4 separate regions of the Homo sapiens genome follow, and all the other regions are linked to region 1. Evidence: promoter capture Hi-C in 16 types of primary human blood cells and fetal thymus (Javierre and others, 2016). All regions are on one chromosome and are shown on one strand. Each heading gives the region's core, a stretch centred on a gene start or on the middle of the fragment in contact. The rest is flanking DNA. Distances are from core to core; before and after follow the strand shown.

Region 1 (2,769 bases), core at 183-2,682:
AGAAATGCTCTGAAATAGTCTCCTCTCCCTTTTGTCTTTTTGTTCTCATGAGGGGGAGAGAAGAGAGACCTTTTTTTTAACATTGAAATATTTAATTAAAATGCCAATTAAAAATGGACTAATTGGTGGTTCTGCTTATAATCAGAAATGTTGCAAATTATTGTATTAACTTGCAAATAGTTTTATGAAGTTGGCATACTTCCTATCAACACTCCTATAAAGACGGCTACACTCATTTATGATAAAAATGTATTTTCAATTCTCAAAGGAAGCTTATCTCAGCAAAGAAATTTCTTTTCCTGCTTCCTCAACAGTTTATGTAGCAATTGGATTTATATCTTTGTTAAATAGATGGTCAAAATGAGAGCTGATGAAGAGAGAGACTGAGCTCATATCTGAACTGGAGAGAAACTCCGAACACCCTAGCAACCTGCATTCTGTATGTTATTGTGTACTGGTGTATTTGCTAATGAACAGTTGCATGTATAGATAGTTTATGTGGTTTCCAAGAGCTAAATGAGAATGGTGATGATATTCTTTAGCATTTGTGTTTATAATTTACAAAGCACTTTCATATACGTTATCTGATTTTCTGAACAATTTAGAAATATTTGTAAATTGAACAAATTAAATAAATTTCTCGAGACGTTTAGATTTCTAAAATATCTGGTTTCAAACATGTTTGTTAACCCAATGCCTGCTTAGTGGTTCAAATAAAATTTTTTATGTCTAGGAAATGATAATTTGAGCAATTACTTAGAATATCCTGAAAAAAAAAATAAAGTCAGAAAGTACAAAGTAAGATCCCATTGAATTTTGTCTCCAGACTTTACCTCAAGATCAGATTCAACACACGGTAGAACTTGCTTTGAACTACCTTCCTCCTCTCTACAATGCTGACATCAGGATTTCGTGAAAAGGGCTGCTGTCCATTTACCCCCAAATCACTTTGGGGGAATATTTGTGGAATAGCAATTTATAAAAATAGGAACCCCCGCTCCCATCATTTAGTCCTTTATTGGTAGGGGTCCTAAAGATTCACTAAAATCAGCCATAAATTTAGGAAGAGCCCTACCCCATAGAACAGTTTTTCCTAGGAGAGCTATCAAGGCTTCCTACATTTCTGGAAATGAAATGAGCTTTACCCAACACATTACATACACTTACCTATTCCCAGCTCCAGGTAAGAGTCCAGGTTACTTACCAGCTGTGGCTGAGTTGGAGGACACAGGTGAAAAGACAGATGTACACAGAAGGCTTTGAAAGAAACATAATCCTCTGGAGTAACAGCTAGAGAAAATTCCAAAAAACTGGGAGATGGGTAAGCAAGACGGAGAAATATTCTCCTCAGTGCCAGTGGGATGGAATTCTCAAAGCCCAACTTCCTTGGTGTGTAAGCGATCCCAAACAGAGTTAAGGGGAGGTGAAATGGAGCTGCCAAACGTCCAAAGAAGAGATTATCTACTTAATTAAAGTTTTTTTTCCCCTCTAAGTCCTTCAGCCAATCAGAACTCAAGTGCCAGAGAAAGATTGAGTCGATCAAAAGAACACTCCAGGATCCTCCCAGACAAATGCAGAAGAAGGGGACCAGGAGAAAGAGGACAAAGAAAGAAGCGGGGGGAAGAGACATAGCAAATCCCCTCCACATAATCACTGCATGGAGTCTCTTTCCTCCCTCTTGCCTATCCCCTCCCATCACACCACAACCTTTTCCCACCTATGCACACTTACACACACACACACACACACAACACACACACACACACAGCCTGGTCCCCAAAAGGGATCCAGAAAGGACTGTGCTTTCCTGGTTGTCCTCTGTAGCACTTTGAGACTGAATTTGCATTCAGGATAGCATTTTTTTGTTTGTTTTGTTTTTTCAGAAAAAAATACACCAGGTGCAGGTGAACCTCCACCCTCTGATTTGAGAATGTGGGGATGCAGTCCTACCATCTAGTGTATTCTCTGTCTAAGTTAGAAAGGCTAGAAACTTCAGGAAGCCCGATGGTTTTTTCTTCCTTTCAACTTTTTCATCACACAATTACTTACCAAATGCCTATTTTATTCTCAACACCACCCTAGGCATTGTGGAAATTTTTAAAAACCAAAACATGATTTCTGCCCTAACAACATTTACAGCCTAGTAAGGTGACAATAAAATAACGCAGTTTAATAAAGTATTAGAAAGCTACAAACTGCCTATAATAGTGTAGGCTTATTTAGGGGAGGTTTTCTGAAGAAGGTAGAATTTGAGTTTCGAAGAAGGAAAGAGATTTCAATAGGCACACAAAGGTGATCTCAAAATCCCTACTTTCTTAAACTCAGGTGGCGGAGCCAGGAGGGCACCCAGGCCCTCGCTCACACTTCTCTGGGACTCTGCTCCTTCTGTTCCCTAGGGAGGAGGGTGGCCTCAGCCACAGCACTGGGGATCCTCAAAGGGCTCCAGACTGATGTCTATGTAGCCATATAGCCCCATCTTTTAAAAAAAATTTCAGTTAACTTTTGTGGATACATAGTAGGTATATATATTTATGGAGTACATGTACATGAGATATTTTGATACAGGCATACAATGAATGCATGATAATCACATCAGGGTAAATGAGTATCCATCACCTCAAGCATTAATCCTTTGTGTTACAAACAGTCTAATTATACTCTTAGTTACCATGTACAATGAAATTATTATTGACGATAGTCACCCTGTTGTGCTGTTGAATACTAGGTCTTCTTCATTCTTTCTAACTATTTTCACACCTTCTACTTTAG
Region 2 (2,721 bases), core at 220-2,719, 150 kb after region 1:
CCTTCCTTCCTTCCTTCCTTCCTTCCTTCCTTCCTTCCTTCTTTCTTTCTTTCTTTCTTTTCTGCCTTAGCCTCTGGAGTAGCTGAGACTACAGGCTCACACCAACACGCCTGGCTAATTTTTGTATTTTTAGTAGAGATGGGGTTTCACCATGTTGGCCAGGCTGGTCTTGAACTCCTGACCTTGGGTGATCCCCACCCACCTCAGCCTCCCAAAGTGCTGGGATTACAGGCTAGCCAGCGCACCCGGCCCATTTCAATTGTTTTCTAGACATATATAAATATACATGAATTTTAGATAAAGAAGCTTCTGTTGGTTTACACTAGAAGGATGTGTAAAGTCAACAGCAATGCCGTCTGTGAGGTGGAACGTCCGCTGATTGTGATAAATGTAGTATAGGAGGCTCCCCTAAAGTGCTGATGGCTAATGGCAATAAAGTCAGTGAAGGAGGATCTCTGGATGCACTTTGTGAAAGATAAATCACACTGCAGAGAAGCCCAGGATCAGAAACAGTGCTTCTTGCTGGATACTTCTCGGTCCTGGACTGGCTGTCCCCGTGCCTGCTTCCTTCTCTCTCTTCTCTCTCCCCAGGCACTGGTCTGTTTTGCTTTCTTCTCGCCTACCTCTGCCCACAGCTTTTGACTCCTCTTCTTTTCTCCCTGGTCCTTTGTCTCACAGGCTTTTCCATGTCTTCCTGTTCTGGGTACAAGCCTATGGCTTCTTGAGATTTTTTTTTAAAGGGCTCTCCCTGCTGGGAACTCCAGGGAATCATATTTTCCACTTTTGGTTCTTGAACCCCAGGAAAAGTTTGATAAAGGTGTTTCAGGAATTTCATACCCTTCCAAGTGGTGATAACATAGTTTCTGTTTAAATTATTTGCAGGCAAGTCATGGTGGTTCACGCCTGTAATCCCAGCAGTCTGTGGGAGGATTGCTTGTGTCCAGGAGTTTAAGACCAGCCTGGGCAACCTAGCAAAGCCCCATCTCTATTACTAAAATGAAAAAATTACCTACAAATAAATTGTTTATAAATCAAGCAACTATTAATTACTTAAATATGATTTCCCTTTATATGGAACCATTTGAGAGCCTCCTGTTGTGTACTGAGAGAGAAAGCCCTTGGTAAAGAAGGTGATGTATCTCTCTGGGGTGACCAAATCTGTCTGCGTAAAGTCTTCTTGGATGGCCTTTATTTTGCAACACTTCATGAAACAATGATGAATTATTGATTGGTTATTGAACCAATGCCAGTAATCAATTCTCTCTGGAGTTAAAGGGTCTATTGAGGGTAGATAGATATAACTCAAATAAATGAAAACTGTTTGCACTCCTCAAAATGTTGAGGGTAGACCCAGTAACTCCAGAGAGAATCGATTATTGGCATTGGATGAACATATGGTTCGGTCATGGTGTTGATTATCCTGTAATCCTCACAGAATCTTATTGATCCAGGTAGCTTATACTGCACAATTACAGGTAAAAGCCAGGACTTCTGTATAGTAAAATCACTAATTACCAACTCTATTAACTTAGTTACCGCTCCCTTATCATTTGTTAAGACAGTGCATGAAACTGGCAATCCAATTGGGGTGACCCCTTGTGTATGTAATCACTAGGTTTTTCCTGCCTGGTTTCCTGTCTTTTCTGGGTCCATATGTTCAAAGACTCCAGCTTGGGCACCTTTTAACAAGGGCTACTCTTCTCAGGCTTCCTTGGTTTCTAGCACTAAATACATTTTTTTGGTTCAGCTAGATTTAGGCAGCAAAAAGTCTCCGGGTCTCAGCACTAGTATACTCTTTGTAGCTTTAGTTTTTCCAAAATGACCAGTCTCTGGGAGATCTTGAGCAAAATAGCTCAAAGAAGGACAGTAAGAGCAAGTGCAACTCTTCCTCTGTAACCTTCTACAGGAGCGTGTGGAATCACCGCTGCCTCATCAGCCAGAAAAATCCCTGTACAAAGACAGGACTTTTACGTTTTACTACAGTTGGTGTCTTCAGCTCTTTTGAAACAGTGTGCCCTCCTTCGCAGAGACCATAGCTGCAGAAATGTTACCTTATCTCTTATGACATTAACTGAAGTTCATGCTATGTCTCGAGGTTTCTGGGCCACACAGAAGCAATGCTATCTAGGGGGCCGTATTTTTCCAGGATGACTCTAGAGAAGAAGACTCTTCATCTTCCTCAGGACTGTTGACTTCCTGGTTTGATTGCTGTCTTCGTAAACTCTTTATGCAATTCTGAAACCACATGAGAATTTACAAGCCATCAGCTAAAGCCATACTGAATCCATAAGAATCAATTGCTTTGCTCTCCCTGGATTCTGCATTCAGAATGGAATAGAACAGGGAAGTTCCAGCAGCCTCCTTGTTTGATTGCCTTATGCCCTGTCCTCTACTCCTATCTCCAGTCTTCTAGGTATCTGATTTCAGTATTCCATCCGCTGAGAGACTCTATTATATTGATTCAGCATGGACAAGTATCTATAGGTCTATTCTTCCAGCTGGGCTAAGATCTCAGAGCTACTAGAAACTTCAGGGGGATCACTAACAGGATCTTGGATTCATTTCCATTTTTCCAGAATAATCATCATCAGTCTGTTTGTTTTTCCTTCAACAGCAACTCATAAAAGCTTTTGGCTCTGAATCTAATTTCCCAAGAAGAAACTGGCCATGTGTCATAGGTTCTCTAGAACCAGAATCTTCTGAACCTAAGCCCTAAAAAGC
Region 3 (2,849 bases), core at 192-2,691, 170 kb after region 1:
AAAGGTAGGGGGTCAGGAGGAGGCTGGGTAAGGTTCAAGCCAGCTTGTGGTTCAGTTTGCCCAGGGCCCACTACTGGACAGTTTGTATTGGACCAAATGGTACAACAACCAGAGCCTGGGCCATGGCTCCCACTCCTTCATCTACTATGAGAACATGCTGCTGGGGGTTCCGAGGCTGCGGCAGCTAAAGGTCCGCAATGACTCCTGTGTGGTGCATGAAGACTTCCGGGAGGACATTCTGAGCTGCTATGATGTCTACTCTCCAGACAAAGAAGAACAACTCCCCTTTGGGCCCTTCAATGGCACAGCGTGAGTGAGCCTGTCCTACCAATATCACAGGGCTTGCCCCTCTAAACCTGACACCATCCCAAGGTCTGGGAACCACTTCCACTGAGGCTTAAAGAGCCTCAGAGCTCTTTAAGGGACTTCTGGGGGCATCTCCCTGAATCCCAGCTGTGACTGTTTGGGGACCTTGGTCTGTGTCACTCAGGAACAGAGGAGGTAGGTTAGCAAACACAGCAATAGCCTCCAGACTTGTTCCCACAGACAGGTTGCAATCACACTTGTCCTACCTTGCACGTAGTCCTTCCAGGGAAAGCTTCCTTTCTTGCCTAGAAGTTGGTTAGGGGTATACAAAATGGGTGAAATTGAAGAACCCAACCCTTGAGATTGATACGTGGAGCAGCAAGGGGTCAAGGATGGATGACAAATTAGGGAGGAAGGGGGAAAGGGTGGACAGGACAGAAGAGGGAGGAAATAAGCACCCAGGGTAGAAAGTTTAGTGGATAGAATGGAGAAACATGGGGTGAAGGAGCCTGATGTGCAATCACAGAGCTGGAGGATCTTTTCCTCCTGGTCCAGGTGCTTCCCTTAGGGGGACTATTCAAGGTGGGCCAAAAGTGGGGCTTGGCTTTGTCATCCAAATCTTTGAGTGACATAGTGAAAAATCAGATTTACATTTGAGTTTCAGTTCTGTCATTTATAGCTGGATTATCTCGGTAACCTCTTTCATAGTTTCCTCTTCTGCAAAATGTGGATAATATTCACTCTCCCTTCTCAAATGGTTGTTAGTATCAAACAGAATAATAAATGATACATTATATATGTATATATCACATATCTCATACACACACACACACACACACACACACACACACACACACACACAATATGTAAACCTGTAAAGCCCAGACAATGATAAAGCATTGCCATTGCCTTGGGAGATGAACTTTTGGGCTGGCTCAGCTGGCATTTTCTGTGGCAGGTGGACATACCACTCGCAGGATGAGTTGGGGGGCTTCTCCCACTGGGGCAGGCTCACAAGCTACAGCGGAGGTGGCTACTACCTGGACCTTCCAGGATCCCGACAGGGTAGTGCAGAGGCTCTCCGGGCCCTTCAGGAGGGGCTGTGGCTGGACAGGGGCACTCGAGTGGTGTTCATCGACTTCTCAGTCTACAATGCCAATATCAATCTTTTCTGTGTCCTGAGGTGAGCCCCCTTTCCCTACTTTATCACCCTGTCCATGGCTCCTGGTTCCCGTCTCTTGTGCATGAGACCCTTCCCTAAACTCCTACCCTGTGGTGGGGGTGGAGAGGAGAGGAAGTGGGAGGAGCCGTCCCAGCGAAGGCTCCACTGGAGGTCATCTCCCCCTCCCCCTATAGGCTGGTGGTGGAGTTTCCAGCTACAGGAGGTGCCATCCCATCCTGGCAAATCCGCACAGTCAAGCTGATCCGCTATGTCAGCAACTGGGACTTCTTTATCGTTGGCTGTGAGGTCATCTTCTGCGTCTTCATCTTCTACTATGTGGTGGAAGAGATCCTGGAGCTCCACATTCACCGGCTTCGCTACCTCAGCAGCATCTGGAACATACTGGACCTGGTGGTCATCTTGGTGAGGGACAGATATCTAGGACTTGGGACATTCTGGGGTGAGGAGGGAGTTCCACCCTAATAGGGGCTCCAGGTTCTTCCTTTTGGAGCCCTAAGCCCTCCTTCTGACTTTTGGTCAAATCATCATTTAACAGCTCCCTAAGTGAGAGGGACATGTTCCCCTCTCTCAGCCCTTGGGAAACCCTGTCTCTCACATCTCCTCTCCTCCTCACCTGTCATCTGAGCCCTGTGTTTTTTTTTTTTAGTGTACTATATTCTGCTCCTCTCTTGTCTTTTGTCTTTATGACCTGTTCTGTGGAAACCCATGCCTTTTGTCTTCTATTCAAATATTCTGCCCCTTCATCTTCATCTCCCTCCTATTAACAAGACACATTCAATTCCTGACCAAAGCTTGGAAGTGGTGGGAGCGGAAGGAAATGACTGGTTCCAGTTCCCTACAGCCCTTTACAATCTATACATTAATATTTACCATTGTCCCCAATGCCTTCTCTTGGGCTTTGGAACACTTAAGATGCTCCCCAGTCATCCTACCAAGTTCCATTTGAAACTGAGATAGTGAACAAGTCAGCAAGGATGGCTTTTTTCCCACCTGTCTTACCTACCCTGACTCTCCCTTGGGGCCTCATCTTGGAACTTCCCTTGAGATCCCCTTGCCTTCTCTGACACCCCCATGACCCCTGTGTGACAGCTCTCCATTGTGGCTGTGGGCTTCCACATATTCCGAACCCTCGAGGTGAATCGGCTCATGGGGAAGCTCCTGCAGCAGCCAAACACGTATGCAGACTTTGAGTTCCTCGCCTTCTGGCAGACACAGTACAACAACATGAATGCTGTCAACCTCTTCTTCGCCTGGATCAAGGTACCTGGGATTCCCACACCCAGCTTTGCTTCAAGGCGCACTCATTCTCCCTTCTTTTCTTTTCTTTTTTTTCTTTTTTTTTTTTTTGAGATGGAGTCTC
Region 4 (2,812 bases), core at 236-2,735, 130 kb after region 1:
TTACATCTTACCCATGATGAAAGTTCTGATGAAACATTTTTTTCCCCTTTGGTTCATTCATTACCCTTAGATAATCCCCTAAAGAGCACCTTCACAATCCCTCTCCTTCTTTGGGGCTTATGCCTTCAACTATCTGCACATGGCTGTCAGGACCCCATCCCACACACATGCATCTGCACATGGCTGTCAGGACCCCATCCCACACACATGCACCTGCACTCCTTAGCTCTTCAGCCAGGCCTACCCACATACAGTTCTTTTCATCTTTCCTCATACATCAAAACCTCAAGTGAATTGGAAGCGGGATTATGGCTCTCTTCTCAAGATTTTCTCACGTCAGCTGCATCCCTTCTCCTCAACCACATGCCAGGTTTGTGTATGCCAATAGCCATTCACCAATGGAAATGAGGTTTTTCTGGAATGCTGTGTTCTATAGTTAAAAAAAAAAAAGATTCCTCCTACCCATAGCTTATATCTAGGTTGGATCAATATTTATACAAACTATAATAAGGAGGAAAAATCTAAAAGAAGTCTGGGACTACCTTAAATCTCCAACCCCCCAAGAAACATTTAAACTACAAATAAAAATCTCAAAATAATATATTTCCCTTAAACATAGGCTATGAATTAATAAAATAAATTCAATCACCTTTTGGTAAAGGAAGCATGAAAAGATTGACTACTCATTTCTTTATGGATGAAAAATTAGCATGGATGAGTGCCCCAAATGAAAAAGAACCCTTCCTTTTCTTCTTATTTTGTCATTTCCTTCCCACTGACTTGGTCAGAAGCCACCTCCTTTTGTTCTTCAACCACTCTGAATAGCTGGTAGTTTCCATGGTCTCTGAAGGGATTCACGCACACCACAGTTCTCGGCGGCAATAGGGACCACCAGAGGTCCTCACCCTCGTTATGCAACCTCAGGCCTTCCCCCTCCTCTGTTTTCTCCCAACTGCACTAAGGGCCAGTCTTCTACAACCCTAGGGGCATCACAGACATCTTCAGAGCCCCAAGACCCCACCTATCATTCCTATGCTTAGAAGGAACCTCTTCTTTTCCAAACCTTCCCATCCAAACCTGATGGGGCTCTTCCTTCCCAAACCTCGCCCATCCATCAAGATCTAGCTTCTGTTTCATTTCCTCCAGAGGAAGCTTCCTTTTCCCCTAAACTTCATAATGTTTAGTGTCTATACCATTAAAATAGGCTACCTCACATTATTCATGCCTCCATTTGCTGCTGCTGCTTTTTTTTTTTTTTTTTTTTGAAACAAGCTCTTTCTCTGTCACCAAGGCTGGAGTGCAATGGCATGAACACGGCTCACTGCAGCCCTGACCTCCCGGGCTCAAGCAATCCTCCTGCCTCAGCCTCCTGTGTATTTGGGATCACAGACATGCATTACCATGCCCAGCTAATTTTTTGATTTTTTTGTAGAGACAGGGTCTCACTTTGTTGCCCAGGCTGGTCTTGAACTCCTAGTCTCAAGCTCGGCCTCCCAAAGTGCTGATGTTAGCCACTGTGCCTGGCCCATTTGCTCCATTTTTTAAAGTTTTATTTTATTTTTAATTGATAAATAATAATTCTATATACTTATGAGGTACAATGTGACATTTTGATACATGTATACATTGTGGAGTGATCAAATCAGGTGAATTAGCATATTCATTACTTCAAATATTTATCATTTCTTTGTAGTAAGAACTTTTTAAATCCTCTCTGTTAGCTATTTTGAAGTACACAGTACCTCATTATCAACTGTAGTCACCACACTGTGCAACAGAACAACAGAACATATTTCTCTTGCCTGATTGAAAGCTTTTATCCATCGACCACTCTCTTCCCCTCTCACACACCCCTCACCCCCAGCCTCTGGTAACCACCATTCTACTCTCTACTTCTACGAGTTCAATTTTTTTAGTTTCCACATATAAGTGAGAGCATAGGGCATCTGTCTCATTATGCCTGGCTTATTTCACTTAACATAATGTTCTCTAGGTTTATCTATGTTGTCGTAAATGACAGAATTTTCTGTGTTTTTTTTTTCAAGGCTGAATATATTATATTGTGCATATATACCACATCTTTTAAATCCTTTCGTCAGTTGATGGATACTTAGATTGTTTCCATATCTTGGCTATTATTAATAATCCTGCAATGAACATGGGAGAGGAGACATCTATTCAACACACTGATTTCAATTCCTTTGAGATTCTTGGAACATATGGTAATTCTATTTTTAGTTTTTTGAGGAACCTCCATACTGTTTTCCAAGATGTCCGTACTAATTTACAATACAGCCAAGCATACAAGGGGCCCCTTTTCTCCACAGCCTTGCCAACACTTGTTATCTTTCTTTCTTTCTTTTTTCTTGAGACAGGGTCTTGCTCTGTTGCTCAGGCTGGAGTGCAGTGGTGTGATTTCAGCTGACTGCAGCCTCAACGCCTCAGCCTCCCCAGCTCAAGTGGTTCTCCCACCCCAGCCACCTGAGTAGCAGCTGGGACTACATGCACGCACCCCATGCCTGGCTAATTTTTGTTGTTTTGTTGTTGTTTTGTAGAGGCGGTGTTTCACCATGTTGCCCGGGCTGGTCTTGAACTCCTGAGCTCAAGTGATCCTCCTGCCCTGGCCTCCCAAAGTGCTGGAATTACAGGTGTGGGCAACCACACCCAGCCAAGATCTCTTTATAGGGACACTCAAGACTGATTATTTTGACAAGGCTGATGTTTTGCTGAATGTGAAGGTGGGCTTCAGGCCAGTGAGTAGCCCTGGGTGGGGAGCCAGGAGTTAGGAGAGGAAAGTCTCTGCTCTAGCCTC

The links. Contacts are between HindIII fragments. The CHiCAGO score rates a contact against its expected background, and 5 or more counts as called.
Region 2: a fragment that was not itself captured here is called in contact with the fragment with the promoter of WNT8B in region 1 in 4 of 17 cell types (total CD8 T cells, activated CD4 T cells, total CD4 T cells and 1 more); the score reaches 6.1 in total CD8 T cells.
Region 3: a fragment that was not itself captured here is called in contact with the fragment with the promoter of WNT8B in region 1 in 2 of 17 cell types (endothelial precursors and M1 macrophages); the score reaches 5.7 in endothelial precursors.
Region 4: a fragment that was not itself captured here is called in contact with the fragment with the promoter of WNT8B in region 1 in 6 of 17 cell types (total CD8 T cells, naive CD8 T cells, activated CD4 T cells and 3 more); the score reaches 7.3 in total CD8 T cells.

The regions. Positions count from the first base shown.
Region 1 is chr10:100,461,672-100,464,440 of GRCh38, reverse strand. It overlaps WNT8B (Wnt family member 8B), which reads right to left and starts at 1,432. Exons shown (of 6, transcript NM_003393.4): 1 at 1,205-1,432. The coding sequence starts at 1,272. The HindIII fragment of the contact is 5,936 bases long and covers 275-2,769 here.
Region 2 is chr10:100,312,283-100,315,003 of GRCh38, reverse strand. All of the region lies in intron 2 of PKD2L1 (polycystin 2 like 1, transient receptor potential cation channel), which reads left to right. Among named protein-coding and RNA genes, the nearest start is that of PKD2L1, 17 kb to the left of the region's middle. The HindIII fragment of the contact is 2,321 bases long and covers 309-2,629 here.
Region 3 is chr10:100,296,022-100,298,870 of GRCh38, reverse strand. PKD2L1 (polycystin 2 like 1, transient receptor potential cation channel) reads left to right here. Exons shown (of 16, transcript NM_016112.3): 4 at 56-309; 5 at 1,265-1,489; 6 at 1,663-1,891; 7 at 2,579-2,749. Among named protein-coding and RNA genes, the nearest start is that of BLOC1S2, 11 kb to the right of the region's middle. The HindIII fragment of the contact is 1,682 bases long and covers 601-2,282 here.
Region 4 is chr10:100,331,395-100,334,206 of GRCh38, reverse strand. No RefSeq gene overlaps it. Among named protein-coding and RNA genes, the nearest start is that of PKD2L1, 2.6 kb to the right of the region's middle. The HindIII fragment of the contact is 661 bases long and covers 1,155-1,815 here.